Linked DNA regions of Homo sapiens: all the other regions are linked to region 1. Evidence: promoter capture Hi-C in 16 types of primary human blood cells and fetal thymus (Javierre and others, 2016). All regions are on one chromosome and are shown on one strand. The core of a region is centred on a gene start or on the middle of the fragment in contact, and the rest is flanking DNA. Distances in the headings are between cores, read along the strand shown.

Region 1 (2,643 bases), core at 78-2,577:
TGTTTGTTTGTTTGTGACAGAGTCTCGTTCTGTCACCCAGGCTGGAGTGCAGTGGTGCAATCTCAGCTCACTGCAACCTCCGCCTCCCAGGTTCAAACGATTCTTGTGCCTCAGCCTCCTGAGTAGCTGGGATTACAGGCATGCACCGCCACGCCTGGCTAATTTTTTGTATTTTTAGTAGAGTTGGGGTTTCACCATGTTGGCCAGGCTGGTCTAGAACTCCTGAGCTCAGGCAATCCACCTGCCTCAGCCTCACAAAGTGCTGGGATTACAGGGGTGAGCCACCGCGCCCGGCCTCAGCATGAATTTTGGAAAAGACACAAACATTCAAGCCAAAGCAATATCCTTATGTTAATTCCAGTTATCTCTGACCATGGAATAATGGATAACTATAATTTTATTCTTTGTGCTTCTCTGTACAATCCAATTTCTCTCTACAATAAATATGTATTGCTTTCAGAATCAATGAAAATAAGTTGCATTTAAGAAAAAATTTTTCTCTTCTTCCCAGTTTGAAATACATTTTCTTTAAATTCAAGTCTACTGCCACATTAGGCAGGTTTTGTTTCTTTTTTGTTTGTTTAAATGAAACAAGTAACTGTTCAGCAAGTGGCTAAGAATAACCTCTCCAGGCAGTGGTAAGAAGTAGGAAGTAGGGAAAGAGAGAAAAGAGCTACTCAGGGTCAAAAGAGGCACCGACAGGGTTGGGGGTGGAGTTCAGAATGCCAGGTTAGCTGCCAAGGTACAGAGAGAGAAAGACAGAAACAGAGAGAAAAGGAGGGAGAGAGAGAGACAGAGCAGAGAGGGAGGGAGAGAAGAGAGCACACGTGTGTGCTTTGACCAGCAGGCCAGGATGGGGCTGTTTTCCTCTCCTGTGTCTGCCCCCACCTTGCAGGATCATTTGGAGTCATTGCAGGGCTAGCTTAGCTCTGCCTGAGTCACCCCCAACAGGTAAACTTCTACCAGCAGAGTCTCTCCTTTCGGTTAAAGAGTTGCTTATAGATCTCGTGGTTTTTCAGTTAACATCCTCAGGATCCCCACTTCAGCTCCCACCTTCTTTCCCAGGTCTGGCCTCCCTAGTCCCAGTTTTGGCTCCATCATCCTATTTCCTTCACTCCTTTCCTCCAGCTTCTTCCCAGCTTCTTCCCTTCGTGCATCTGCACCTCAGCTTCCCAGTGCTCTGTGTTCACTTTGCTCATCGCTCGGGCTTCAGCATCTCCCACTATGTTGGTTGATAATTCCCCACCAGAGAGCCACACACCCCTGAGGAAGAAGGGAGAAGCCAGAGGTTTCTGGAAAATCCAGGAGGCGGAGCAGGCTGGAATGGAAGGTAGAGACAACCATGAAAGTTGAACACGTCATCTGTGCAGGACCGTTCATACTGACATGTGGCTTGACACCAGAAATCTGGGTATTGTAATATCATGTTGGAAAGGAGTTTGTGTGCCTCAAACAACTACTCTAGAGATGTTTTACAATGACAATGATAGAGTAGAGGAATCTTCTAATTCCTACCAAATCAGAAGGGAATTCCTCCTTCCTGCCTGCCTGCCTGCCTTCCTTTCTTTCTCTACTTCCTTTTCTTTCTTTCTTTCCTTCCTTCCTCTCTCTCTTTCTCTCTTTCTTCCTTTCTTTCCTTCTTTCTTTCTTTCTCTCTCTCTCTCCCCTTCCTTCCTTCCTTCCTTCCTGAGACAAGGTCTTGCTCTGTCTCCCAGGCTAGAATGCGATGGTGCAATCATGATTCACTGCAGCCTCAACATCCCAGGCTCAAGTGATCCTCCCACCTCAGCCTCCTGAGTAGCTGGGACTACAGGGGCTTGCCACCACGCCCAGCTAATTTGCGTGTGTGTGTGTGTGTGTGTGTGTATGTGGTAGAGATGGGGTCTCACTATGTTGCCCAGCTGGTCTCAAACTCCTGGTCATAAGCAATCCTCCACCTCGGCCTCCCAAAGTGTTGGGATTACACGTGTGAGCCACCATGCCCAGTCTCTATTTCTTAATAGTGTCAGCAACTGAAAGATATAGAAAAGGAAGTCTGTTTGGTGTGTCTGTTGCCTCCCCAAAATCTTCAGCCTTTGTAGGACAGTGCATCCCACTGGGCAAAACCAGAGAATATTCTTTTGTGAGCCCGTAAGTAATTGTCTGCAATAGACATGCAGGGGCCTCTACTGTCATCTCTTATGCAACTGAACTTCCTAAAAACTGTGGTGTTTATCTCTTCTGTTGCTCAGCACTGCTGGGACTGGGACTGCAAAAAACAAAAAAGCACCCAGGTTTACTGCCCTTAAAAAACTGACTGCTAGAGGAGATGAGCATATACATGACAGGATGTGATAAGATATTAAGCAGAATGTGATCAGAATCATAGGAAGTATATACAAAAGATGGGAACACTAATAGAGGTGACTACAACCACCTGCTTTGTAGAGGAGATGACATTCAAGCTGAGTTTTAAAGGATGAGTAGGAGTTGGCCAGAAATGGAGAGGGAGAATAAACCATGGGGAAGTAGTACACAGGCATGGCATGTTTAGAGCATTTTTGGAGCAGGGTAACCAGAATATACTGGAGGTTGCTAGTAGAGGAGATTGGAAAAGAAAGGGTCAGATTATTAATGGATTTACGTATTATGCAAAGAAGTTTA
Region 2 (2,643 bases), core at 42-2,541, 440 kb before region 1:
AAACATTTATCTTTTCTTTGTGTTGGAAACATTATAATTCTCTTTTAGCTATTTTGAAATATACCATAAATCATGGTAAACTATAATTTCCCTACTGTACTATTGAATACTAGAACTCATTCCCTCTATTTAACTGTGTGTTTTTACCTGTTAACCAAGTTCTCTTCATCCTCCCCTCCCTTCTTCCCTTCCCAGCTTCTGGTAACCACCATTCTACTCTTAATCTCCATGAAGTTCACTTTTTTAGATTTCACATAAGAGAGAGAAACATGTGATATTTGTCTTTCTGTTCCTGGCTTATTTCACTTAAATAATGACCTTCAGTTCCATTCATGTTGCTGCAAATGACAGGATTCTGTTCTTTTTAATGGCTGAATAATATTCCATTGTGTATATCAAATATTTCATCTTAACATAAAGTAAGCTGAAGTAAAGATAACTACCCTCAATCAGAGTCTAGAAACATGGCGACTGAGATTTGGGGGTAAGGAGAGCAGTGGAGGGTGGAAAGGTGTTGAGGTACCCTGTGCTTTGCCCACAGCTGGGGCTACACAGGCTGCCTTCTCTCCTTCCTCCTTAGGGTCTAGCACAGTCCTACCTGGCCAGATGCAAGGTCACATTGCTAGCAGACACCCCCCTTCCTCCCTCTTTTCTTCCTCTTCTTCACCCCTCTCATTCTTCACCCTAGTAGCCACTGTGGGTGCCCAAGTCCTGCCTGGGTCCCTTGTCTCCACCTCAGGTGAGCTGGACCTGCTGTGGAGGTGAGCTGGACCTGCTGTGGAGGTGAGCTTTCCCGCTCTTTGGTAGGAAGGAGAAAGCACTGAGCAAGGAGCTGACTGATGGGCTTAGTTGCGAACATGCATGCTGGTCTCAGGCTAGTCTTTCTTTGTCTTCCTTTGCCTGTCCCTGTGAGCCAAGAGCCTTCACCACAGGTACTTGGGGTCAGCTGCAGGAGATTTCCTGGAACTCTGAACTTCTGGGTTTCAGTTTCTCTACCTGTCATATGAGAAGGAACCTGTTTGAGTCTCTCTCACAGCAGGCTGGTGTCTGCACGGAGGCTCTGAGGAGCTCATGGTCATGAAATCTGAGTGCCCCAAACCCACAGACGGAGACAGAGGCACCGCTTCCTGGAAGGCACAGTGAGAGCTGTTAAAATGCTAAACGACCAGGTCAAGCCTCCATATCCCTCGAGAGGCGTTTATGCATTTTACTGGAACACTCTGGCATGAAGCGTTCCCTGAAACAATTAAAAAGATAATGTACTCAGCCTGTGCTCTGTCTGTCTTTACTCTTTGTGCTTTTTCATGACGTTATCCATTCCCAGAACTCAGAGAGCCCCCTCTCCTCTTTCAGTTGACATTTGCTTGGCTGACTGACTCTCTTACTCGCTGTTTCCTTTCCTTTGGATGATTGACTTTTAGCATCATTTCAATGTCTATAACTAAATCAGCAAGGCTTCTAGGTCCAGCACTATAATTCTAAATTTCACTGCTACTACAAACATATCATGTCTGCCGACTGGACCAAGTGATTATAAGTCCCAATTAAACCCTAGGTTTTGCTTTTAAGCCAGTTTCAAGTCAGGCATTTATTCACAGTTGTCTGTAATATCAGGCACTGTGCTAGGCAAATGCGGCAGAAAGTGGCTGAGAAATGGTGCTCATTCTCCCAGAATTCAGAAGGTTTTGGTGAGACAGACAGATAATAGTTAATGAATTTAATGATGACAATGCAGTGATGATCAGTGACGAGCCGATGACTTGATAATGACAATCCATGTGATAAATACAATAGCAATGGTATCATAACGTGACGGGACAGTGAAGAGGAGAGAGTAGCCTAGGATAGGGCTGCACAGATGAGGTGATGTTTGCACCAGGCCTTAGAGGCTAAGGAATCTCAGCAGGGCAAGAAGAACTTCCAGAAAGGGGAGCATCCGTTCATTCATGGAACAAATATCTATGGGGAGTTTGCAGTGTTGCCTAAACAAAAATCAGGAAACCTGACGTGTGTGTTTTTGAAAAAAAATATTTATTACAGAAGTTTTTTGTTCTTTTTTTTTTTTTTTTTTTTTTTTTTTTGAGACGGAGTTTTGCTCTTGTTGCCCAGGATGGAGTGCACTGGTGGAATCTCAGCTCACTGTAACCTCTGCCTCCTGGGTTCAAGTGATTCTCCTGCCTCAGCCTCCTGAGTGGCTGGGATTACAGGCACCCACCACCACGCCTGGCTAATTTTGTATTTTTAGTAGAGACGGGGTTTCTCCACCTAGGTCAGGCTGGTCTTGAATTCCTGACCTCAGGTGATCCGCCCGCCTCGGCCTCTCAAAGTGCTGGGATTACAGGCTTAAGCCACTGCGCCTGGCCAGAAAATTTTAAACATACAAAAGTAGAAAGGCTAGTAAGATAAAGCCCCATATATACATCATCCAGTTTTAATCATGGTTCTTGTGGTCTCCATGCACTCACCCACTACAATTAGCTTCTGCTGTTTATTTCGAAGCAAGCCTCTGGCATCATATAATTTCATTCTTAATGTTTCACTAACAGGATGGTTTAAGTTGCGGAAATGTCAGTAGCATTAGTTGGACCTGGAGGCAAGATTTGTTGGGACAGAAAGAAGGAAGAAAAGTAGTGCTAGGACTGC
Region 3 (2,643 bases), core at 85-2,584, 400 kb before region 1:
TGTTCCTCTCCAGGTAGGCACTGCAGCTAATGAGCACCACTCCAGGGGTGTGGAGGCCTGAGGTGGGAATCACAGTGATCTTGCTCAAGGCTGGTCTCAGCAAGGCCCTCCAGGAGAAGAGCTTGCCTGGAGCATAAGCTCTTCTCTTTCCTGCTACAAAGGTGCAGGTTCAAAGGGCTCTTTTGTTTGAACAATTAGGTGAGCAGGAAGGCAATTAACAGGCCACTCAAAGTAAGTGAAAGGCAAAGGAACTGAAGCTGCAGTCCTATTAAAGAATAACAGATAACAGGTGAAGATTAGCAGGGGCAAGTTCCTATTAATAACACCACCTATTAATAGCAGCAGTCTCTGACCGAGTGTATTGTCCCCAGGTTCTGTGCTAAACATGCAAAAAGCATTGTCTCATTTAATCATCACCACAGGCCAAGCAGGTGGGACATGCGCTCGGAATTGCTGTGGGTGTGAAATCACTCACCCTGCTCTCACACTGGAGCTTGGGGCTCAGCCATTCTAGTGCCAGTGTGTGTCCCATGATTTCAGACTGCCTTTCTGCAAAAGCTGAGAAGACAGCTTCAGTCCGTACGGTGATAAAGCGTATGTGGAGAAGAGAATCTTTTTTCTAATTTGCAAGGTTGCTCCCAGCATACAGAGCTGGGACTTTCCACTCTTATACAAATCAGCCCATCCTTCTCATCTGCTTTTCAAAATTGTACCTCCTGGGCTCTCCCAGGAATAAGAAACCAGCTTTTTATGGAGTCATGCAATTCTTCAAGACTTTTTCCTCAGCAATACAAAGACCAGGCAGCCAAAGCTTGGAAATGACCAAGTCACTGTTTGTATGAACTCAGTTACATTTTTAAATACTTTAATTGATGCATAGCGATTGTATATATTCATGGAGTACATAGTGAGGTTTCCATACCTATAATGTATAGTGATCAGATCAGGGTAATTAGCATATCCATAATCTCAAACATTTACTTCTTTGTTTTGGAAACATTCAATATCCTAGCTATTCGAGACTATAGAATATATTACTGTTAACTACAGTCACTCTACATTGGCATAGAACTCTAGAACTTATTCCTCTCATCTAGTTGTAATTTTGTATCTTTTAACAAATCTCTCCCTATCTCTCTCAGTTACATTTTTAAGGCAAACCCTTCATTCTGAGTATGTGTCTGAGAATGGCAGTAGAGTAGTTCTCTTTTCCTCTGTTATGTTTAGATTCTTGAGGTGTGCATTTACTTTAGAATGCATGACAACTCTTAGTCACTGCAAAGATAATAAGTTGTAGTCATGTAGCAGGACGAGCTGCAGACAAAACTCCTCAGACACTGGGTTAAAGAAGGAAGGAGCTTTATTTGGTCTGGAGCTTCGGCAGACTTGCATCTCAAAAGCCGAGCTGCCCGAGTGAGCAATTCCTGTCCAAGGGCTTACAACTCTAAGAGGGTCTGCATGAGAGGGCTGTGATCAATTGAGCAAGCAGGGGGTACGTGACTGGGGGCTGCATGCACCGGTAATTAGAATGGAACAGAACAGGACAGGGGTTTTCACAGTGCTTTTCTATACAATGCCTGGAATCTATAGATAACACAAGTAGTTAGGTCAGAGGTTGATTTTTAACTACCAGGGTGTGTGCCAGGCTATCTGTCTGTGGATTTCATTTCTGCCTTTTAGCTTTTACTTCTTCTTTCTTTGGAGAAACGCCCAGAAACTGGGCGTAAGACACTATGAGGAGTGGTCTCCTCCCTTAGTCATACCTACATTCTTACTTTAATAAAACTGCACTTTCATGGGAAAAGCATTTTTTTTCTGGTTTTCATATTAACTGGCTTGGGCTGAAGTTATGCTTAGGAAAGCTTGGACAGTCGGTTGTTGCAACCAGACCCAAGGAGGCCTTGTCTGCCTGGGCTGCATGAATGAGGAACTGGGGACAGGTATTGAGACTGGAGAGGTGGGAATCAGATATTCCAAAGCCTAACCTCCTTAGTGAAGCCTACAGATCGCCTGTTCCTACAGGCTTCATAGCCAGAATGCCTTTCTTGGCAGATCAATTGTCCTTCTTTGGAATCATTTTAAAAGCTCTCCGGCTACTTCATCCTCTCCAGTTATCACTGGATCTTTTAAAGGACTCTGAAATGCACACTGAGTAGCAGTCAGCCTCATTTCACTTACAAAAATGGGTTCCTGAGATTTTGCTGTTTATGGATATTTTGTAAATAGAATCCGTTTAAAGGCACTAGAGGAAATTTCTATTTAAATGAATCCTCCTGGGAATCCCTTTGCATTGAAAATGTGAATTGATCTGTTCCATAACATGGATCTGTCAGATTTTCTCAGGGTGGCCTTGCAGTGCGGCACCCCAGGGAAGAATTACAGTAGAGTAATGGAGCGACTCCAGGCTGGCGGCCTCTGCTTGTGTTCCCGCCATCTGTAGCAAAGGATGCCTCAACCTGGGCAGCAGGATTGGGATGTGAAACATAAAATGTGCTGTGACATCAAATATACAATTCTGACAGCCTCCTACTCATTTAAAAGATTTCTTGTTAGGTTTTTAAGTCCTTTGGGAGGATCCTTCTATCCTCTTACACAAGGAATGCTACTCTTGATGCAATTAATCTGAAAGAGGATTTAAAGACA
Region 4 (2,643 bases), core at 98-2,597, 370 kb before region 1:
CTTAAGAACACAACATTCAGTTTGCTTGCAGATCTCCAATTTGGGCAGAGTTCAGCGAGGACAGCTTCTTTGTCTCTGCTCCATGGATAGAGGCTGAGGGGTGACTAGTCCTGGGGCTGCAGTCATCTCTGGGCTCACCCGTTCAACATGACTGGGTTGTTGCTGGGGGATCCCACTTGGGCCATCAACTAGAACCATTATAGGGGCCCCTCCCTGTGGCTGCTGGGCTACTTCACAACATGATGGCTGGATTCCAGGAGACAGGAAACAGCAGCCACCAGCTTCTTCAGGAAGCATCCCCTTCTGCCGTACTCAAGTGACTAAGGAGCCTCAGAGAGCTAGGACTCAGGAGGGTCACACGTAGACCCCCCCACTCTTAGTGGAAGGGCTGTAAGAGATACCGGGCCTTGTTTTATAGTGGTCACAGTGGTTTATCTTTCAGTTGTAGAATCACAGCATTTACTTCTTAGAAGTCATTGAGGCCATTTTCAATGAACCTCCACACTTTGCAGGAACCTTGTCTGCAGCACGCTAGCATAAGTTAGTTGTGGTCTGCCCTGGACTGGGAGATCGTGTGATCATCACAGAGCCATCCTACAGCAAGGAGGACCCGGAGGCATCAGGCGCATAACAAGAACATGAGAAAGGCCCTTCCTTTAAGCCCTTGAGCCCCTGGCTAGGTCCCTGGCAGGACTACTGGGATCAGCCTCCACCTTTTCTGTGTCTTTCAGAATGGTTCAGATGCAGAGGAGGAGCTGTTAGAAGTGTAGTCCCCCAGAACCCGTGGGCCATGAGAGCCAGAACAGCCAGTCTTTGCACATGAGCCAGTAGTCCATCTAAGTGGTACTGCCTTAGGAGTTTACTCAACTCTTTAAACTTACTGCCGTCATTATCAACAAAACCATCATCTTCAACTTCATTACACTTGACGGTATCTCTGCACTTCTTAGCACCTACCACTTGACACTTATGCTTCCTGTGTATGCCCACATAGGTGTGTATGTGACTCTGAAATCTGTCCTCCTTACTAGAAAGTAAGCTTCATGAGGACCAAGTCTTTGAGTGCTTTCCTCATTACTGTTACCCTGGTGCCTGCAACAGTGACTGCACTCTGTAGGTGTCTAATAAAAATAAATAGTTTTAAGGGAATAAATGAATGATCACCATCACCATTGTCATAATCACCTCATAGTGACTTTTTGTTTATCCCAACCAAATGTCTGTCTCTTGATTCTTATACTTTCTCTTAATCCTTGTTTTTCTGCTAAAAAGACATAAATTGCTAAAATGTTTGATAAGCAGTTGGGGGGTCTGCTTTCTTTTTTATTTGCTAATCAAACAAGTTATGAGATCTTTCCTTGGTTTTGGCTTTGATTGGAAGAATTGTTGAATTAGCTGTTCCCTCTAAGTTTACTTTTAGTTCCAAAATATTAACATATAAACCATAGATAAATGCAGCTACAGCTACCTATGCCAAAAATTTCCTGCACAAATTCTGATGACTTCATGAGTTTGTGTTAGTTATAAGAGGTCTAAGAATGAGGAAAACGGTGTCATTTGGTAGGCCTTCAGTTTAGAATCACGACATAGCAGGGATGTGACTTTCTTAAAACCAATATCCTAGCATTGTGCTTCACCTTAAAATGAATCCATCACTAAGCTTAAATGATGAGGAAAATGGAAGAAAAGAGAAATTCTATTTCTTATGAATTTATTTTTATTTTTATTTTGTGAGACAGAGTCTTGCTCTGTTGCCCAGGCTGGAGTGCAGTGACAGGATCTCAGCTCACTGCAACCTCCACCTTCTGAGTTCAAGCAATTCTCCTGCCTCAGTCTCCCGAGTAGCTGGGATTACAGGCATCTGCCTAATTTTTGTGTTGTTAGTAGAGACGGGGTTTCGCCATGTTGGTCAGGTTGGTCTTGAACTCCTGACTCCCGTGATCCACCTGTCTTGGCCTTCCAATGTGCTGGGATTACAGGTGTGAGCCACCATACCCGGCCTTATTTCTTATGAATGTAGCACTTAGGAAAGGAAGGAATCTGGCCTGGGACTCTTACTTCTTTGACTTCTCTGGGTTCTCATCAATCACCAAAAATGGTCGACTCTGTCTCAGAAGCCTCCTGCCTTCCCTTTCTCGTCCAAGCGTCCATCACACAGCACCACACCTGAGAGGTGATACAGTCTCTAGTCCCTTTGCCGCTGGAGGAAAACTGAAGACCTACCAAATAATACGGGCTCTTAGGAGGCCTGGAAGCTGTGGTTGGTCAGTCTTATGCTCCTCTCAAGGCCCTGTTCAATTTGCCTGCTTCCTGAAGCTGACCCTTATTCCCAGGCATGGTGACATCACATCCACCCAGTCCCTTTAGCTCCGATTTTCCACACTGTTTTTTTCGCATCCTAAGTCCATTATCTTTTATTCTTAGTCATTTTCTTATACTCATGACTAGTATCTCTCCATCTAGGATTCAAGCTGCAGGTCTGAGAGGAATAAAAAAATAGCAAAAGAAATTATCAACAGAGTAAACAGACAACTTACAGAATAAGAGAAAATATTTGCAAACCATTCATCTGGCAAAGGCCTAATTTCTAGAACCTATAAAGAACTCAAACAAATTTACAAAAAAAAAAAAAAAGACAAATAA
Region 5 (2,643 bases), core at 52-2,551, 290 kb before region 1:
CCAATAATGGGGAAGTTACAAGGAAAAACTCAGTAAACAAGGGTAAGGTTTGTTATGTAAATTTAAGTCAGTGCCTTCTCCATTGGTAAGACTCAGTAACTTAGAGTCATTCTTTTCTTCCTTGTACAGACAGGGAGACACCCTTACAAATGGAGATCTTCTTTATACATGTAAGGTCTCTACCAAAGGGTAACTGCTGCACTATTTTTACAGTTTCTCCTGTGTCTAAAGTTTCTGAAAATAATCAGCTCAAATAATCCTTATGCGAAAGAAGCACATTTTAGGGGAGTCATAGTCTGAACTCCTGCAATGTGATAAAGACTGCACATGTAATAATTCTGGAGAAGCCAGGGTACATAAAGCCATGTGAGTCACACTCTCTGCTTGCAAAAGGGTTATCTCCTCAAGCTTGAGTAGGATGGTCCAAGCCTGTGGTTTTATCCCAGGCATGTGGAGGAGTTGGCAGATTAGAAAGAAAAAGGCCTGAGCAGTGCTGAGTGGGCAAGGGCAGCAACACTCTTCTAAAGGGCCAGGGAGTTTTGGACTGAGATGAACTAGATGACCATTAAGATTTATTCCAGTCTAAGATCCAATGCTTCTGTGACTCTAACATGTTTTACAGTTTCTTGTTTTGATGCTGCAGTATTACTAATAGCTATTATTTACTAAGCCACTTACTGTCTCATGTGTCCATATGAAGAGACCACCAAATAGGCTTTGTGTGAGACACAAGGCTGTTTATTTCACCTGTGTGCAGGCGGGCTGAGTCCAAAAAGAGACTCAGCAAGCATGGTGGGATTATCATTAGTTCTTGTAGGTTTGGGGATAGGCGGTGGAGTTAGGAGCAATGTTTTGTGGGCAGGGGGTGGATCTCACAAAGTACATTCTCAAGGGTGGGGAGCATTACAAAGAATCTTCTTAAGGGTGGGGGAGATTACAAACAATCTTTTTAAGGGTGGAGAAAATCACAAAGTACATTGATCAGTTAGAGTGGGGCAGAAACAAATCACAATGGTGGAATGTCATCAGTTAAGGCTATTTTCACTTATTTTGTGGATCTTCAGTTGCTTCAGGCCATCTGGATGTACGCGTGGCAGGTCACAGGGGATATGATGGCTTAGCTTGGGCTCAGAGGCCTGACACTTACTATTGAAACTGCCATTGCAAAATTGTAACTGAGGCAATGAAAGAGATCTGACCTAACCAACTCCGTCTTGCTTCTAACCTCCAAGCTATCCTTGCTCGTTCCTGGATGCAGGCTGAACTAACTTTGGGAGAAACTTAGTTTATAGTTTAGTGTTTAAAACAAAGACGATAATAGCTCTTTCACAAAAATCAACCTTCCTCTTGCCTGGGGACTAGATTCCCTTTGTAGGACTAACAAATTAGCCACAAGATTAGAAATTATGGTTTAGGAGTCATGCCACCGGAAGATTCTGACCCTCCTTAAACTATTCCTAAAATCAGTGCTTGAGCTGTTTTGCAGAGATATTTTGCAGATGCTTCACTTGATGGATTAGCTGGCACCACCCAGATCGATAAACTGGCTCATCTGATCTTGTGGCTCCAACCCAGGAACTGACTCAGGGCAAGAAGACAGCTTTGACTCCCGATGATTTCATCTCTGACCTGACCAATCAGCACTCCTGGCTCACTGGCCTCCCCACATCCACCAAGATGTCCTTAAAAATTCTGATTCCGGAATGCTCGGGAAGACTGATTTGAGTAATAATAAAACTCTGGTCTTCCACACAGCCAGTTCTGCATGAATTACTCTTTCTCTATTGCATTTCCCCTGTCTTGATAAATCGGCTCTATCTAAGCAGTGGGCAAAGTGAACCCACTGGGCGGTTACGCTATGGGCCAGGGTTTGCTGACTACTTCGTATGTATAAGGTTATTTATTCTTCATGATAACATAATTTTTAAAAAGGCATTGTCTTCCCCACTTTACAAATGAGACAACTAAAGTGCAAAAAGTGTAAGTAACTTTCAAAGATCACAGAATTTGAATGCGATGGCCAGGGCTGAGTCCATGCTCTAGACAGTAGTGTTCAACCTCTTCCCTTGGTGCTACCAGCTGGGGCCTGTACTAGTTTTCTATCCTCACCCTTGCACCATGACTTGGAGTCTCTCTGGAAGCTGACAGGAGAATTTCAGAGAAGGCACGACGCATCAGTGCCACTGGGAGGAAAGAAGCTTTTGTTTGATCCTCTAAGCCCCAGTTGGAACCAATCTTCGCAGTGGTGTTGGCAGCCTCAGGACTCTCTGGGGACTTTCCCATTCTGGAAACTGAAGATCTGCTTAAGCGCTGCACAGGTGACAGTTACCCGATCCTCGGCTAGCTCTTTGCTGTGGTGGCCAAGAAAATGCTCATTAAGTTTGGAGTTCTGTTTCCTTAGTTCCTTGTCCTGACAGCCTAAATGATTTCAGATTTTTCCAGTAGTGTGCTCTTCTCCCACCTACAAAACAAAATGTACATGTGCTTCCTAGGTTAAGGGATGGTTTTATTTAGGTCCAACTGGATGGTGGGAACTGAGAAATACTGCATTCGAGGACCGGGGCAAGTTCTGAAGCTCCTAAGCAGTGGGTGCCCACGGAGAATACATTTCAGGTCCATTATTCATGACTTAAGTTGATGTTC

What was found. Contacts are between HindIII fragments. The CHiCAGO score rates a contact against its expected background, and 5 or more counts as called.
Region 2: a contact is called between a fragment that was not itself captured here and the fragment with the promoter of TMEM78 in region 1, in 5 of 17 cell types (non-activated CD4 T cells, M1 macrophages, monocytes and 2 more). The highest score is 6.7, in non-activated CD4 T cells.
Region 3: a fragment that was not itself captured here is called in contact with the fragment with the promoter of TMEM78 in region 1 in 1 of 17 cell types (M1 macrophages); the score reaches 5.3 in M1 macrophages.
Region 4: a fragment that was not itself captured here is called in contact with the fragment with the promoter of TMEM78 in region 1 in 1 of 17 cell types (M2 macrophages); the score reaches 5.2 in M2 macrophages.
Region 5: a contact is called between a fragment that was not itself captured here and the fragment with the promoter of TMEM78 in region 1, in 1 of 17 cell types (M2 macrophages). The highest score is 5.1, in M2 macrophages.

Annotation. Positions count from the first base shown.
Region 1 is chr1:229,248,309-229,250,951 of GRCh38, forward strand. It overlaps TMEM78 (transmembrane protein 78), which reads left to right and starts at 1,328. Exons shown (of 1, transcript NR_172940.1): 1 at 1,328-2,643. The region is part of intron 1 of LOC102723935 (a long non-coding RNA gene); the gene reads right to left. The HindIII fragment of the contact is 6,724 bases long and covers 1-2,643 here.
Region 2 is chr1:228,804,007-228,806,649 of GRCh38, forward strand. No RefSeq gene overlaps it. Among named protein-coding and RNA genes, the nearest start is that of RHOU, 70 kb to the left of the region's middle. The HindIII fragment of the contact is 5,276 bases long and covers 1-2,643 here.
Region 3 is chr1:228,848,989-228,851,631 of GRCh38, forward strand. No RefSeq gene overlaps it. Among named protein-coding and RNA genes, the nearest start is that of RHOU, 110 kb to the left of the region's middle. RefSeq lists an enhancer at 1-732. The HindIII fragment of the contact is 1,051 bases long and covers 810-1,860 here.
Region 4 is chr1:228,876,209-228,878,851 of GRCh38, forward strand. No RefSeq gene overlaps it. Among named protein-coding and RNA genes, the nearest start is that of RHOU, 140 kb to the left of the region's middle. The HindIII fragment of the contact is 621 bases long and covers 1,038-1,658 here.
Region 5 is chr1:228,955,485-228,958,127 of GRCh38, forward strand. All of the region lies in intron 1 of LOC105373143 (a long non-coding RNA gene), which reads left to right. Among named protein-coding and RNA genes, the nearest start is that of LINC02815, 200 kb to the right of the region's middle. RefSeq lists an enhancer at 1,745-2,605. The HindIII fragment of the contact is 1,790 bases long and covers 407-2,196 here.